3 separate regions of the Homo sapiens genome follow, and all the other regions are linked to region 1. The links are contacts of gene promoters, found by promoter capture Hi-C in blood cells and fetal thymus (Javierre and others, 2016). All regions are on one chromosome and are shown on one strand. The core of a region is centred on a gene start or on the middle of the fragment in contact, and the rest is flanking DNA. Distances in the headings are between cores, read along the strand shown. Region 1 holds the start of TMEM121B (transmembrane protein 121B). Region 2 overlaps BCL2L13 (BCL2 like 13). Region 3 overlaps BCL2L13 (BCL2 like 13).

What was found. Contacts are between HindIII fragments. The CHiCAGO score rates a contact against its expected background, and 5 or more counts as called.
Region 2: a fragment that was not itself captured here is called in contact with the fragment with the promoter of TMEM121B in region 1 in 1 of 17 cell types (monocytes); the score reaches 5.0 in monocytes.
Region 3: a contact is called between a fragment that was not itself captured here and the fragment with the promoter of TMEM121B in region 1, in 1 of 17 cell types (neutrophils). The highest score is 5.4, in neutrophils.

What each region holds. Positions count from the first base shown.
Region 1 is chr22:17,119,307-17,122,845 of GRCh38, reverse strand. TMEM121B (transmembrane protein 121B) reads left to right here and starts at 1,486. Exons shown (of 1, transcript NM_031890.4): 1 at 1,486-3,539. The coding sequence starts at 1,719. The coding sequence ends at 3,455. LINC01664 (long intergenic non-protein coding RNA 1664) reads right to left here and starts at 1,251. Exons shown (of 4, transcript NR_103793.1): 1 at 807-1,251. RefSeq lists an enhancer at 528-1,059 and a silencer at 1,645-1,774. The HindIII fragment of the contact is 5,742 bases long and covers 376-3,539 here.
Region 2 is chr22:17,674,611-17,678,007 of GRCh38, reverse strand. All of the region lies in intron 2 of BCL2L13 (BCL2 like 13), which reads right to left. Among named protein-coding and RNA genes, the nearest start is that of BCL2L13, 38 kb to the right of the region's middle. The HindIII fragment of the contact is 260 bases long and covers 1,202-1,461 here.
Region 3 is chr22:17,717,452-17,720,855 of GRCh38, reverse strand. All of the region lies in intron 6 of BCL2L13 (BCL2 like 13), which reads right to left. Among named protein-coding and RNA genes, the nearest start is that of MIR3198-1, 45 kb to the left of the region's middle. The HindIII fragment of the contact is 3,886 bases long and covers 1-3,332 here.

The DNA of each region.
Region 1 (3,539 bases), core at 237-2,736:
GTGGGATGGCGGCCCCAGAGCTCCTGCCCTCACCACCATGCCAGCTTTCCAAAAGTGGTGTGTGTGGGGGAGGTGGAGATGGTGCAGGTTCTAAATTGTATATTTACCAGGGATTGGCTGTGCAGACTGACCTCCACGGAACTGGAAAAGGCAGGTTTGGCTGAAACGGACTCTTATTTAAGAGGCAGATTTAGGGGCGAGGCCTGACTAACCCCTGCGGCTCCACTGCATACAGCTCCCTCACACTGCATGGTGTTATCACGCTGCAAGCTGTTACCTAGGGGAGATGAGCCCGCAGCAGCAGCTTCAAAGGTCATGAAATCAGGGAGCCCACAGGCCCCACAAGGGTGCAGAGGCCAATAGGGCAGGCAAGCTTTCTGCCTTGTTTTCATGGGGCTGGGAATGGGATGTTTCCATTATTGGTGAACCTCAGATTGTTTTTGAGCCCCAACTGCTCTAGTCATTTCCTTCTCCCTTAAACCCCTAAAGGCAGCACTCTACCTTCTGCCTTCCAGAGTTGCTGCATCGACATCCATCCCCAGCCTTGGATGAGTCCTGGGGTGAGCTGGTGTGCTCTCTCCTGAGACTGTCTACGCAGGGCCACTGACTGCATTCCTTCCTTGGTGTCTCTGTCTACTGTGGTGGGCTGTAACCCTCACCATCATCCCTTTGGAGCCTTTGTTTTCATCCAGGTGCCCACACCTCTAAATGCCCCTTTATTTTACTCTCTGCTAGACACATCTTCCTATTACGTCCCATTCTGCTTTAAAAACCTTTGAGAAGCCCGCTGGGCGGATGCCACTTGCCCAATCTCGTTCCCTCGTCTCTCCTCCCAGGCAGGTGTTTTCAGGGAACTTCTCCATCCGCTGGAATCGGGTCGTCCCTGAGATGGCTCGCGACCCCAGGGCTGGGTACATGGATATTTAGGACTATAGGTCTGGGGCTGCTGCCCGAGCCCTTTTTGCCAACATGGCCTGACTCCTCCACTGGTTTTTAGTGCCTTAGGGAGAGGCGGATGGCCCCATGGGAAGGGCGCTGGACGGAGGGTGGAGGCGAAGCTGCCCACTGCCTGCCTCAGAGCTGAGAAGGCCAGGTGCAAAGCCCGCCCTGTAGCTTGAGCCCATCGCTTGGGGGCACCGAAGCCATCTAGGTACTAACGCCCTGCGGTACAGCCGGTGGGATTCCCAGCGACTTCCTTAGGAGTCCGCGCTCCATGGGAGTCCCCCCGCACCGGGTCGCCTCGCCCTGGCGGCTGCCCGCGCCTCCTCCCGCTTCCTCCAGGCCACAGGGCTCCCGACCCGACTGTGACGCACTGCACCCCCGCCCCTTCTCTTCCCGTTGATCCAGCGCGCCGCGCTTTCTCCTCCTCTGGTCTCGCTGCTTCCTCTCCCCCTCGAATCCAGTCCTGGTTTCCCCGCCGCCAGCCTCCCTCCCTCCCGGCGGGACTCGCTCCCCGCCCCGCCCCGCCCCGCCCCCGCCTCGCCTGTCTTCACCGCGGTCCGCTCGGTTCACCGCCTGCCCCCTCTCCCTGCCGCCCGGCCCGGCTCGCCCAGTCCAGTGGCTCCAGTCCGGATCTCGCCGCCGCCCGGCCCAGGTGCGAGTCCCCACTGCTGGGGAGGCGGCGGGCCCCGGCTCCCCTCGGCCGCCTAGCCCGCCTCGCCCGCCCGGGGTTGGCGGGGAGGGAACAGCTGGGCGGCCCCAGAGCCCCTCGGAGGACAATGCGCCCGGCGCTCGGCCACCCTCGCTCGGTCTCCTCCGCGTCCGGTTCCTTCCCGCCGCCCCCGGCAGCCGCCCGGCTGCAGCCCCTCTTCCTCCGCGGGGGCTCCTTCCGCGGCCGGAGAGGCTCCGGCGACAGCAGCACCAGCACCAGCACCAGCCGCGGGGGAGGCGGCGGCAGACGCGGCGGGGGCGGCGGCTCCCCGAGCAGCAGCACGGGCGCCGAGCGCGAGGACGACGACGAGAGCCTCAGCGTCAGCAAGCCGCTGGTGCCCAACGCCGCGCTCCTGGGGCCGCCGGCTCAGGTGGGCGCCCCCGCCGGCCCCGCGCCTGTCGCCTTCTCCTCCTCAGCGGCCACCTCCTCCTCCACCTCCACGCCCACCTCCTCCTGCAGCATGACAGCCGCGGACTTCGGCGGGGGCGCCGCGGCCGGGGCCGTCGGGGGCCCCGGGAGCCGCTCGGCGGGGGGCGCGGGCGGCACCGGGACCGGCAGCGGCGCCTCCTGCTGCCCGTGTTGCTGCTGCTGCGGCTGCCCAGACCGCCCCGGCCGCAGAGGTCGGCGCCGCGGCTGCGCCCCCAGTCCCAGGTGCCGCTGGGGCTACCAGGCGCTGTCCGTGGTGCTGCTGCTGGCGCAGGGCGGCCTGCTGGACCTGTACCTCATCGCCGTCACCGACCTGTACTGGTGCTCCTGGATCGCCACTGACCTGGTGGTGGTGGTGGGCTGGGCCATCTTCTTCGCCAAGAACAGCCGGGGCCGTCGGGGCGGCGCAGCCAGCGGCGCGCACAACCACCACCTGCACCACCACCACGCCGCGCCGCCCCTGCATCTGCCCGCCCCCTCGGCCGCTACCGCTGGGGCCAAGGCACGCGGAGCCCGCGGGGGCGCCGGCGGCGCGGGGGGCGGCCTGGGGGCGGCCGCGGCAGCGGGCGAGTTCGCCTTCGCCTACCTGGCCTGGCTTATCTACTCCATCGCCTTCACTCCCAAGGTGGTGCTGATCCTGGGCACGTCCATCCTAGACCTCATCGAGCTACGCGCGCCCTTCGGCACCACGGGCTTCCGTCTCACCATGGCGCTGTCGGTGCCCCTGCTCTACAGCTTGGTGCGGGCCATCAGCGAGGCGGGCGCGCCCCCGGGATCGGCAGGACCCCTGCTGCTGCAGCCCCAGCGGCACCGCGCGGCCGGATGCTTCCTGGGCACGTGCTTGGACCTGCTCGACAGCTTCACGCTGGTGGAGCTGATGCTGGAGGGCCGCGTGCCGCTGCCCGCGCACCTGCGCTACCTGCTTATCGCCGTCTACTTCCTCACCCTCGCCTCGCCGGTGCTCTGGCTCTACGAGCTCAACGCCGCGGCCGCAGCGGCTGCATCCTGGGGCCAGGCCTCCGGGCCTGGCAGCTGCAGCCGCCTTCTGCGCCTGCTGGGCGGCTGCCTGGTGGACGTGCCCTTGCTGGCGCTGCGCTGCCTCCTGGTGGTCAGCTACCAGCAGCCCCTCTCCATCTTCATGCTCAAGAACCTCTTCTTCCTCGGCTGCCGGGGCCTGGAGGCCCTGGAGGGCTGCTGGGACCGGGGCAATCGGGCCTCCCCGAGTCGGGCCAGAGGGGGCTACGGTGCTCCGCCCTCCGCCCCTCCACCACCTCCGCCACCACCTCAGGGAGGCTCCCAGCTGGGCCACTGCATCTCGGAGAACGAGGGGGGTGCTCATGGCTATGTCAACACCCTGGCTGTGGCCTCTCAGAATTGAGGGTGAAGGGCACGGGTCCTTGTTTTTGGGTTGAGAGTCCCCAACCCCCTTGTCTTCTACCTTCTGTCACCTAGATTTGATCAG
Region 2 (3,397 bases), core at 82-2,581, 560 kb before region 1:
GTGGCACTATCATGGCTCACAAGAGCCTCAACCTCTTAGGCTCAAGCGATCTTCCCACCTCAGCCTCTCAAGTAGCTGGCACTACAGGTACACACCACCATGCCCAGCTAATTTTTGTGGGGTTTTTTTGTTTTTTTTTTGAGACAGAGTCTCGCTCTGTCGCCAGATCATGCAATGGCGCGATCTCGCCTCACTGCAACCTCTGCCTCCTGGGTTCAAGTGATTCTCCTGCCTCAGCCTCCTGAGTAGCTAGAACTACAGGTGCACACCACCACACCCAGCTAATTTTTGTATTTTTGGTAGAGACAGGGTTTCACCATGTTGGCCAGGATGGTCTCGATCTCCTGACCTCATGATCCACCTGCCTCAGACTCCCAAAGTGCTGGGATTACAGGTGTGAGCCACCGCGCCCAGCTGTGTGGGGTTTTTCTTTTTTTTGGTAGAGACAAAGTTTTGCCTTGTTGGCCAGGCTGGTCTCAAATTCCTGGGCTCAAGCAGGCCGCCCACCTTGGCCTCCCTCACGCTGGGATTACAGGCATGAGCCACCAGGCTCTGCCTATGTTTTCATTTTTTGCAACCAAATTAAAGAATCCCAAATTCTCAGATGGGCTTTGAATTAATTAATTCTATTAAGGTCAAGAAACTTGATTATTCTATCATCCACAGGTATTTAAAATACCTTTAAAAAACAAAAGGTTAAACATTTTTACGTATCACAGATTCTGATTCATTTTCTACTTTTAAAGCTGACAAAAATAACATGGCTTTAAGCGACATAAAACACTTTCCTTATGAGATGAGACTAACCAAAATAAAATTCAAATCCTTTTATTTTTTTATTTTTTTATTTTTTGAGAATAGGGTCTCACTATATTGCCTAGGCAGGTCTCAAACTCCTGGGCTCAAGCCATCCTCCTGCCTCTGCCTCCCTAAGTGCCAGAATCCTTAAAAGTTGAAATGTAACACAAAGGATCTCCTCAATGTCACCAATAGCATATACTTTGCTTAATGACATTTCACTTACTTCTGCCTAAGTAAATAACTTTGATAAACTACATTCATAAAAACTTGAAAATGTTACATAAAACAATCTATTATGCAAAAATTTGAGGCCAATTTATCCTAGAAAGATCCTATGCCAATTTATCCTAATCTTTATAAATTCTCATAAAGCATAAAAGTCTACCTTTACAGATAAGCTTCTACTAAATCTCCATTACTGTTTATAATTATAACAGGTTTTCCCTTTAGAAGTAATTTGTAGTGTTAGATGGCTCTGCAACAGCACTGATTAATATAACTGCACAAGATACAGTGATCTCCAGAATACATCATGACATTATTAAGTGAAATCAAACACAAGCTCAGAAATTAATTCACGGCCCATGCTATTTCTTGCAATAAAATTCTCTCTTTCCCTTCCAGCTTCCTGGAAAACAGCCGTAAAGTGGTTGATAAGCTTTGGAGTCAGGCCTTCTAACTCTTCACTTGGGCAAGGAAAATAATCTTCTTGACCCTCTCCTCTTTATGATTATTTTTTTAATTGAGACAGAGTCTCGCTCTGTCACCCAGGCTGGAGTGCAGTGGTGCAGTCTCGGCTCACTGCAACCTCCACCTCCTGGGTTCAAGCAATTCTCCCACCTCAGCCTCCCAAGTAGCTGGGAGTACAGGCGTGTGCCACCACACCTGCCTATTTTTTTTTGTTTTTAGTAGAGATAGGGTTCTGCCATGTTGGCCAGGCTGGTCTCGAACTCCTGACCTGAAGTGATCCGCCTGCCTCAGCCTCCCGAAGTGCTGGGATTACAGGCGTGAGCCACCGTCTCTCCTCTTATATAAAATGGGAAAATAATACCCACCACAAAGGGTAGTTGTGAAGAGTAATGAGATAAATGCCCAATCGACAGGTGCTCCCACTCACCAATTCTTTTCATGCTCTAAAATTGTATTATTAGATAATTATCTTTCCTGGCCCCTTATCTCTGTGAACAGAAATTAGCTCATCACAGATTTTTAATCAAAGATGCTTATACAGAACCTGCTTTCCACACTGTGAAAGGTAGGAATAGCAGGACAACCTCTGTCAGTTTAGATAATGCCATGTAATATAAAATAAGGCTGTTTTAACACAAACTAGGAGAAATCTTGACAGGCAGTTATTCTTGCTCTTCAATTGCTGCTAGAGAGAATGGCTTAATATGTGTTGCTTAAATTTGTTGGACATTGCACAACAAATTGATTGGGGAAGTTTTACTAAAAAGCTGTATTCCTGAATACCAGATGTTCTGCAACCTGTTTCCAAGGGTGGCTTGCCTCTAATGGACTTGCCTTCAATTTTTTTCCAGGCTAAGGTAATCTCTGTCATACTCAACAATGTAAGAATTTTGATCAATCACTGTCATAAGCTACAGTGAATGAACGTGCTTTTAAGAGAAATCAATCCTTCTTGTAGCTACTAACACTCCTTCAAACATACTTCAATGACAGAAACAGAAATAACAACCAGGCTGAAAAAAGTTAGCCCTCTATTCCACAAAAACATTTCTAACTTAATATCTATCATTCTACTCTTGACCTCCCCTTAATCAGAAACTCAGAACACCTACACGTTTTAGACTTCTTGCAGATAATATAACCTATTGGATCCATTTTTCTACAAGGTTTGAATTGTAGACCTCATGATTTGCCCACCCTGGTCTCCCAAAGTGCTGGGATTACAGGAGTGAGCCACCGCGTCTGGCCGATATTGACAACATTTTCTACTGCATTTCTGTGTCCTATGTTATAAAGCTCTTAGTGGGAAAAAAGAAATCTTTTAAAAAACTATTTTCCAACCAAAAGGAACTAGTATAGCTTCTAAATTATAGGGGTAAAAGATTCCTGGAACTAAATATACCCTCTGTTTTATAGTATATATATGTGTGTGTGTGTGTGTATACATATGTATGTATGTATGTATTTGGCTTTCCCAAGAACCAAATTCACAGCTCAGCACTAGTATAATTGTAGAGGATCTCACAGACTACTTACCTATCTATGATCTGTTATTCCTACTATAGACATGTACAATTTTCCTACTCCTGATTTTTTTATTTACTATTTGGATTTTTCCATTATGCATCATAAGCCACATTAAATTATATGTGGTAAGGAATTTTTTAAAAAAGTATTACTATTTGCATCCAGTATGAACTCACTGCCAATTTCTCACTATCTAACAAAACAAGCCAGATGCAGTAGCATGTTACAGTCCCAGCTACTTGGGAGGCCTAGGCAGGAAGACCCCTTGAGCTCAGGAGTTTGAGGCCATAGTGTGCTATAATCATGCCTGTGAGTAGCCACTGCACTCCAGCCTGGGCAACATAGCAAGAACTCATTTCTTTCTTTCTTTTTTTTTTTT
Region 3 (3,404 bases), core at 140-2,639, 600 kb before region 1:
TTCTTTTAGTATTGAGATTCATATTCATAAAATTCACATAACATAAAAATTCATAGCCAGGCACAGTGGCTCACACCTATAATCCCAACATTTTGGAAGGCAAAGGAGAGAGGATCACTTCAGCCCAGGAATTTGAAACCAACCTGGGCAACACAGTGAGATCCCGCCTCTAAAAAAAAAAAAAAAATTAAGGCCGGGCACGGTGGCTCACGCCTGTAATCCCAGCACTTTGGGAGGCGGAGGCAGGCTGATCGCCTGAGGTCAGGAGTTCGAGACCAGCCTGATCAACATGGAGAAACCCCATCTCTACTACATGTAAAAATACAAAAAAATTAGCCAGGCATGGTGGCACATGCCTGTAATCCCAGCTACTTGGAAGGCTGAGGCAGGAGAATCACTTGAACCTGGGAGGTGGAGGTTGTGGTGAGCCGAGATCGCGCCAGTGCACTCCGGCCTGGACAACAAGAGTGAAACTCCATCTCAAAAAAAGAAAAATTAAAAAATTTAAAAAATTAGCTGGTCTTGGTGATGTACACCTGTAGTCCCAGCTACTCAGCTACTCAGGAGGCTGAGGTGGGAGAATCACTTGAGCCTGGGAGGTCAAGGCTACAGTGAGCCATGATCGTGCCACTGCACTGCAGCCTGAATGACAGAACGAGACCCTGTCTCTAACGAAAGAAAGAAAGAAAGAAAGAAAGAAAATGAAACCCACCATTTCTAGGTGTACCATTCAGTGGTTTTTAGTATATTCATAGTGTTGTGCAACCACATTACAATTGCCAGAAAATTTCCATCATCCCAAAAAGACACCCTTTGGTAGTCACTCTCCATTCTCCCCCTTTTCATCCCCTGGCAATCACTAATCTACGTTCTATCTCTACGGATTGCCTATTCTGAGAAGTAGAAATGGAGTCATGCAATATAGCCTTCTGTATCTGGCTGCTTCCACTTAGCATAATGTTTTCAAGGCCCACCCATGTTGTAGCATGTATCCATACTTCATTCTTTTTTTTTTTTTTTTTTTTTTTGAGATGGAGTCTCACTCTTTCGCCAGGCTGGAGTGCAGTGGCGTGATCTCGGCTCACTGCAACCTCCGCCTCCCGGATTCCAGCGATTATCCTGCCTCAGCCTCCTGAGTAGCTGGGATTACAGGCGCCCACCACCACGCCCAGCTAATTTTTGTATTTTTAGTAGAGATGGGGTTTCACCAAGTTGGCCAGGATGGTCTCGATCTCTTGACCTCATGATCCACCTGCCTCGGCCGTACTTCATTCTTCTTTATGGCTGAGAATAATATTTCATTGTAGGTAGGCACGACATTTTACTTATTAATTAGCTGGTGAACATTTGGGTTGATTCTACTCTTTAGAATAGTGTTGTTATAAATGTCCATGTACTAGTTTTTGTTTGAATGTTTTTATTATTTTGAATACAGCAGGAGTAAAACTGCCAGATCATATGGTAATTTTACGTCAAATTATTCTCCAAAAAATTTAGAAAAATATTTCCAAATATTTTTGGAATTCCAAAACATTTCTGAAAATAATGATGTTGAACATCTTTTCATGTGCTAATTGGCCATTTGTACATTTTCTTTAGAATGACGTGTAATTCAAATCTTTTGCCCATTTTTAAATAGAGTTGTGTTTTTATGTTGGATTGTGAGAATTTTTTATTCTTTTTTTTTTTTTTTTTTTTTTTTGAGACAGAGCCTTGCTTTGTCTCCCAGGCTGGAGTGTAGTGGTGCCATCTCGCCTCACTGCAACCTTGGCCTCCTGGGTTCAGGCAATTCTTCTGCCTCAGCCTCCCAAGTAGCTGGGATTACAGGCATGCACCACTGTGCCTGGCTGTTGTATTTTTGTAGATACGGGGTTTCACCATGTTGCCCAGGCTAGTCTTGAACTCCTGATCTCAAGTAATCCACCCACCTCAGCCTCCCAAAGTGCTGGGATTACAGGCATGAGCCACCACACCTGACCGCGTTTTTAATTCTTAAATAAGACTGCTACAAAATTAGATACTGATATAATTGCAAGGTGCTTGTAATTGGGTTGAGACTAAAGGAAACAGGGAGATAAACAAGGTGTCCTAAAAACTAGGTCTATGAGAGGAACTAGTAGTCTATGCTAATTAATAATTTTTAAAAATCTTCAAAAAGATCTCTGCCATTAGTGCCATTCCTCATATGGATTCCTTTCCCAGACTTCAAACCCCACATGGCTAAAACAGACTGTCACTGCTATAATCTTACGGGATTTCATCTCTTTCAAACTCTCATTACATTTTCATTAGTATAGGCATAATGTAAAACCATTACACATTTCTGGGACCATCATCAATAATGAATGCTAACAAAGAGTACCTCACAACCAAATGCAGTACATAAAGTCTATATATCCATCAACTGCAGAACTCACGCAATACAGCCAGCCAGAAGAGAATGCTTGTCGTACTGAAGACTATAAACTACAAGTACTAACTCTACATCACTTCTGTCTTACCCCATACCTAATATTTTGGCTAGCATCTATCTCATCATTTTCCCCTCCTTTTATTTAATCATTAAGTACTAAATATATCTCAATGTATTTATTCCTAAATATATCTTCTAATATCTAAATACATCTCTTCCCTTCCATCAACATTTTCTGGTATTACTCTAATGTAAGCAATCTTCTTTTCCCTCCCTCCCTCCCTGTATTACTCTAATATAAGCAATCTTCCCCTTCCCTCCCCTCCTGTTCTTTTCTTTTCTCTTCTCTTCTTTTCGAGCCAGGGTCTCTCTCTGTTGCCCAGGCTAGAGTGCTGTGGCGAGAACACAGCTCACTGCAACCTCTGCCCCCAGGGCTCAAGCAACCCTCCTACTTCAGCCTTCAGAGTAGCTAGGACCACAGGCATGCACCATCATGACTGGCTAATTTTTACATTTTTTGTAGAGACAGTGTTTTGCCATGTTGCCCAGGCTGGTCTCAAATTCCTGATCTTAAGCAATCTGCCTGCTTTGGCCTACCAAAGTGTTAGGATTACAAGTGTGAGCCACCACGCCTGGCCTCAATCGTTGTCTTTCATAAGAAGCAATGCAAAGACTCCTAAAAGCCTGCAATCCAACTTGGATGATATAAAAAAAACAGTAAGTTAAGCCAAAAATCTGGGAATCATATTGGGTTTCTCCAATTCCTGGCTTCTTCTTATCAGGAACTGTGCTCTTTAGGTGCTGGTAATAAAACAATCTCTACCTTCAAAGAGTTTAAAATACAGTAACAGAGGCCGGGCATTGTTGTCTCACACCTTAAATCCCAGCACTTTTGGACGCCCAGGCAGGAGGATAAGCTTGAGCCCAGGAATTAGAGACCACCTGGGTAAGATGGTAAGACCCCATCTCTACAAAAAAAAGAAATAGCATT